2 separate regions of the Homo sapiens genome follow, and region 1 is linked to region 2. The links are contacts of gene promoters, found by promoter capture Hi-C in human tissues and cell types (Jung and others, 2019). All regions are on one chromosome and are shown on one strand. The core of a region is centred on a gene start or on the middle of the fragment in contact, and the rest is flanking DNA. Distances in the headings are between cores, read along the strand shown.

The links. Contacts are between HindIII fragments. The study calls those that stand out against the background at their distance.
Region 1: a contact is called between a fragment that was not itself captured here and the fragment with the promoter of ZNF676 in region 2, in 1 of the 25 tissues and cell types used here (mesendoderm cells).

What each region holds. Positions count from the first base shown.
Region 1 is chr19:22,150,562-22,153,318 of GRCh38, reverse strand. No RefSeq gene overlaps it. Among named protein-coding and RNA genes, the nearest start is that of ZNF676, 45 kb to the left of the region's middle. The HindIII fragment of the contact is 5,978 bases long and covers 1-2,757 here.
Region 2 is chr19:22,195,656-22,198,355 of GRCh38, reverse strand. It overlaps ZNF676 (zinc finger protein 676), which reads left to right and starts at 1,405. Exons shown (of 3, transcript NM_001001411.3): 1 at 1,405-1,756. The coding sequence starts at 1,723. The HindIII fragment of the contact is 8,211 bases long and covers 1-2,700 here.

The DNA of each region.
Region 1 (2,757 bases), core at 90-2,589, 45 kb after region 2:
TTTCTACATATGGCTAGCCAGTTTTCCCAGCACCATTTATTAAATAGGGAATCCTTTCTTCATTTCTTGTTTTTGTCAGGTCTGTCAAATATCAGATGATTGTAGATGTGTGGTGTTATTTCTGAGGCCACTGTTCTGTTCCATTGGTCTATATCTCTGTTTTGGTATGAGTACCATGCTGTTTTGGTTATTGTAGCCTTGTAGTATAGTCTGAAGTCAGGTAGTGTGATGCCTTCAGCTTTGTTCTTTTTGGTTAGGATTGTCTTGGCAATGAGGGCTCTTTTTTGGTTCCATATGAACTTTAAAGTAGTTTTTTTCCAATTCTGTGAAGAAAGTCAGAGGTAGCTTGATGGGGATGCCATTGAATCTATAAATTACCTTGGGCAGTATGGCCATTTTCACAATATTGATTCTTCCCATCCAGGAGCATGGAATGTACTTCCATTTGTTTGTGTCCTCTTTTATTTCATTGAGCAGTGGTTTGTAGCTCTCCTTGAAGAGGTCCTTCACATTCCTTGGAATTTGTATTCCTAGGTATTTTATTCTCTTTGCAGCAATTGTGAATGGGAGTTCACTCATGATTTGGCTCTCTGTTTGTCTGTTATTTGTGTATAGGAATGCTTGTGATTTTTTACATTGAAAAATTTTGTATCCTGAGACTTTGCTGAAGTTGCTTATCACCTTAAGGAGACATGGGGCTGAGATGATGAGGTTTTCTAAATATACAATCATGTCATCTGCAAACAGGGACAATTTGACTTCCTGTTTTCCTAATTGAATACGCCTTATTTCTTTCTCTTGCCTGATTGCCCAGAACTTTCAACACTAAGATGAATAGGAATGGTGAGAGAGGACATCCCTGTCCTGTGCCAGTTTTCAAAGGGAATGCTTCCAGTTTTTGCCCATTCAGTATGATATTGGCTGTGGTTCTGTCATAAACAGCTCTTATTATTTTGAGAAACATTCCTTGAATACCTAGGTGATTGAGAGTTTTTGCATGAAGGGCTGTTGAATTTTGTCAAAGGCCTTTTCTGCATCTATTGAGACAATCATGTGGTTTTTGTCGTTGGTTCTGTTTATATGATGGATGACGTTTATTGATTTGCATATGTTGAACCAGCCTTGCATTCCAGGGATGAAGCTAACTTGATTGTCAAGGATAAACATTTTGATTTGCTGCTGGATTTGGTTTGCCAGTATTTTATTGAGGAATTTTGCATCAATGTTCATCAGGGATATTGGTCTAAAATTCTCTTTTGTTGTGTTTCTGCCAAGCTTTGGTATCGGGATGATGCTGGCCTCATAAAATGAGTTAGGGAGGATTCTGTCTTTTTTTATTGATTGGAATAGTATCAGAAGAAATGTTACCACCTCCTCTTTGTACCTCTGGTAGAATTCAGCTGTGAATCCATCTGGTCCTGGACTTTTTTTGTTGGTAGCCTATTAATTATTTCCTCAATTTCAGAACCTGTTATTGGTCTATTCAGAGATTCAACTTATTCCTGGTTTAGTCTTGGGAGGGTTTATGTGTCCAGGAATTTATCCATTTCTTCTAGATTTTCTAGTTTATTTGCATAGAGGTGTTTATAATATTCTCTGATGGTAGTTTGTATGTCTGTGGGATAAGTGGTGATATCCCCGTTATCATTTTTTATTGCATCTATTTGATTCTTCCCTCTTCTTCTTTATTAGTCTTGCTAATAGTCTATCAATTTTGTTGATCTTTTCAAAAAACCACCTCCTGGATTCAATGATTTTTTGAAGGGTTTTTTGCATCTCTATCTCCTTCAGTTCTGCTCTGATCTTAGTTATTTCTTGTCTTCTGTTAGCTTTTGAATGTGTTTGCTCTTGCCTCTCTATTTCTTTTAATTGTGATGTTAGGGTGTCAATTTTAGATCTTTCCTGCTTTCTCTTGTGGGCATTTAGTGCTATACATTTCCCTCTACCCACTGCTTTAAATGTGTCCCAGAGATTCTGTTATGTTGTGTCTTTGTTCTCATTGGTTTCAAAGAACATCTTTATTTCTGCCTTCATTTCATTATTTACCTAGTGGTCATTCAGGAGCAGGTTGTTCAGTTTCCATGTAGTTGTGCAGTTTTGAGTGAGTTTCTTAATCCTGAGTTCTTATTTGATTGCACTGTGGTCTAAGAGACAGTTTACTGTGATTTCTGTTCTTTTACATTTGTTGAGGAGTGCTTTACTTCCAATTATGTTGTCAATTTTAGAATAAGTGTGATGTTGTGCTCAGAGGAATGTATATTTTATTGACTTGGTGTTGAGAGTTTTGTAGATGTCTATTAGGTCAGCTTGGTGCAGAGCTGAGTTCAACTCTTGGATATCGTTGTTAACCTTCTGTCTCGTTCATCTGTCTGATGTTGACCATGGGGTGTTAAAGTCTCCCATTATTATTGTGTGGGAGTCTAAGTCTCTTTGTAGGTCTCTGGTGACTTGCTTTATGAATCCGGGTGCTCCTGTATTGGGTGCATATATATTTAGGATAGTTAACCTTCTTGTTGCATTGATCCCTTTACCATTGTGTAATGGCCTTCTTTGTCTTTTTTGATCTTTGCTGGTTTAAAGTCTGTTTTATCAGAGACTAGGATTGCAACCCCTGCTTTTTTTTGTTTTCCATTTGCTTGGTAGATCTTCCTCCATCCCTTTATTTTGAGCCTATGTGTGTCTCTGGATGTGAGATCGGTCTTCTGAATGCAGCACACTGATGGGTCTTGACTCTTTATCCAATTTGCTGGTCTGTGT
Region 2 (2,700 bases), core at 156-2,655:
TCTGAAAAATATATTTTTTTCTATATACCAGAGCTTTCTCTATATTATGGCTTCTTATATGCCATGCAGAAATCTCACTATGAATTTATAATCTGCAATATTAAAAATGTCCCTTTGTGGCTGTTGAACATGGGAAAGTGTAGATACTCAAAATTCATATTGGGGAAAACCTGGGGTTTTTAGTGAAGACAGAGAACATGTAATGTTGTGGTTTCATCTGTGTTCTTTATTATGTCTATGCAGTACAAGATTAAGAAAACACTCATTGAAGCAGTGTGGTATTTATTACCCAGAAAATTCTAAAAAAAATTGTTAGGAGATACCTGCTCTCTCAGTGCTGAAGAAATACTATTTAAAATCACTACTAAAAGTTACAGAACATGGGAGATATCTCTATCTTGAACTTTCCATAAAACTAATGTTTCCTTATGGTTAAATTCAGACTATAATTTACCTTTCAGAGGGGGGGCAATATCTCAGCAGTAATACTGTGTCCTTCTGGGTACATCAGGACATTAAAAAAATGTGTTCTAGTGTAATTGATGTTAATAAATCACTTGGTTGATAAGCTCTCTGACACATTTTTTTACTATGGAATTAATCATTTTCCTCTTCATCATTAAATATCTTTATGCAGCTGATGTGAATAAACCAAAACATTTAATCTGACAGCTGCCCTTCTTTCTTAGGTTTCCTTTGCATTTGTCTGTTTTTGGAAAATGAAGGCTCTTATCTTTGTTTACAAACCAGAAAAACAGAAAAACACAGGCTCATTCTATTACTGGATGTTTTAAAAAATAGTCTTTTTGGGCCAAAAACATTGGCATACTGATGAGCTTATTAGAAATTCAGCAACTCAGACTTTATCCCAGATCTGAAAAAAAAAAAATTGCATTAACAGGATCTCTAGCTTATTGCACACATTAAAATTTGAGTCATACCTTCTAACTCAACATGTCTATTCCATCTGAATAATATGCAAAACTATGTCTTTTCCATCTGAAAAATACACACGATGAATTTTTTTTTTTTTTTTTGAGATGGAGTTTCACTCTTGTTGCCCAAGCTAGAGTGCAATGAATCTTGGCTCACTGCAGCCTCCGCCTCCTGGGTTCAAGCAATTCTCCTGCCTCAGCCTCCCGAGTAGCTAGGATTACAGCCATGTGCCACCATGCATGGCTAATTTTGTGTTTTTAGTAGAGACGGGGTTTCACCATGTTGGTCAGGCTGGTCTCGAACTCCCAACCTCAGGTGATCTGCCCACCTCAGCCTCCCAAAGTGCTGGGATTACAGGCATGAGCCACCATGCCTGGCACACAATTCTGTATGATGTAAATATAGCACTCAAAATTGTACATGTTAGTGTTTTTGCCCTCAATTTTATACTTTATTATCTAGAAAAATATTACATATACACAGATGTTATGGATCTTATACCACTTTCTTTTCTCAGAGTTAGAGAATACATTAGTGAACATTTCTGTGTTGAAAACTATTTTATTGAATAATTTCAGTCATTCATATAAGTCAGAACCAGCTCTCTCTACTCTCTCCATTTTACCTTGAGTCACATTAAAAGTTCTGCCCATGACCAATTGGTAAATATATGTGTTTGTGTGTGTTTTCCAGGGAGCATTGACATTTAGGGATGTGGCCATAGAATTCTCTCTGGAGGAGTGGCAATGCCTGGATTCTACACAGCAGAATTTATATAGGAATGTGATGTTAGAGAACTACAGAAACCTGGTCTTCCTGGGTGAGAATAACTTTAATACGCAATTCCTAGTATATACTACAGGTTTCATTTTGCTGCAGACCTTATTGGACTGAACAAAGGAGGATGAATGCGAGAATACAGACAAAGACAAAAGAGTATATTTGGAAGAAGGGGTCGTGGACTCCTTGCTTCTGGTGAACAAGGGTCCTGAGCTTCTATAGCCCTTTGTATTTATTGAGTAAAGGAGATAGGGAGAAGGGGGAGGTTGTGGTCAGCTGCTTGACTTAATGCAGGCCTGCATGACTGTATTCTTTGAACAGTACTCTCCAGATGTTCCAGTAGATAACTCCAAGGAGCATGGCACCAGGGAGTGACTGTCCTCAGTATACCTTCTGGTGGCAGGAGCAGAAGCAAGTTTGCCCACATTCTGCACTCATGATAAACAGTTTGCTGTTTGATCATATAGCCTCCAGTGGAATGCTGAGTTGGTCACAACACTCAGGCATTCAGCTCCCAACATTTCCCCCTTCCTGTTTATGCATTAATCAAATAAACGTAAGGCCAGGTTGGGCAGCTCTCATTTTGTGATTGGTCCGTCGGATTTTACAGACTATGAACAGAAAACAGAGACAGAACAGCATTACTCCAAAAACTACATATGAGATGTTTGTGTGGTGCTTTAGATAGGTCCAAGGATTGAGGCTCTCCAGGCCTTGCTGGAATTCGGTCCAGTCTTCTAAAGAAGGCTGAAACTCTTGAGTTTGCTTATTTAAATCAAGAATTTTGTTTTGTAATTCACCAGTATCAAAGGTGATGTTGGGTGTGAAAGCTCCCCGCAAATGGGCTTTCACAAGGTCCCATGGATACTCGCTTTGGTTATATTCTACGTTGGTTACACATATATGAGTGTGATTTAAATGATAGCACAATTGCTCTTTCAATTGTAAGTTTTGTAATTGTTCTCCTAACCATAGAACCATGGA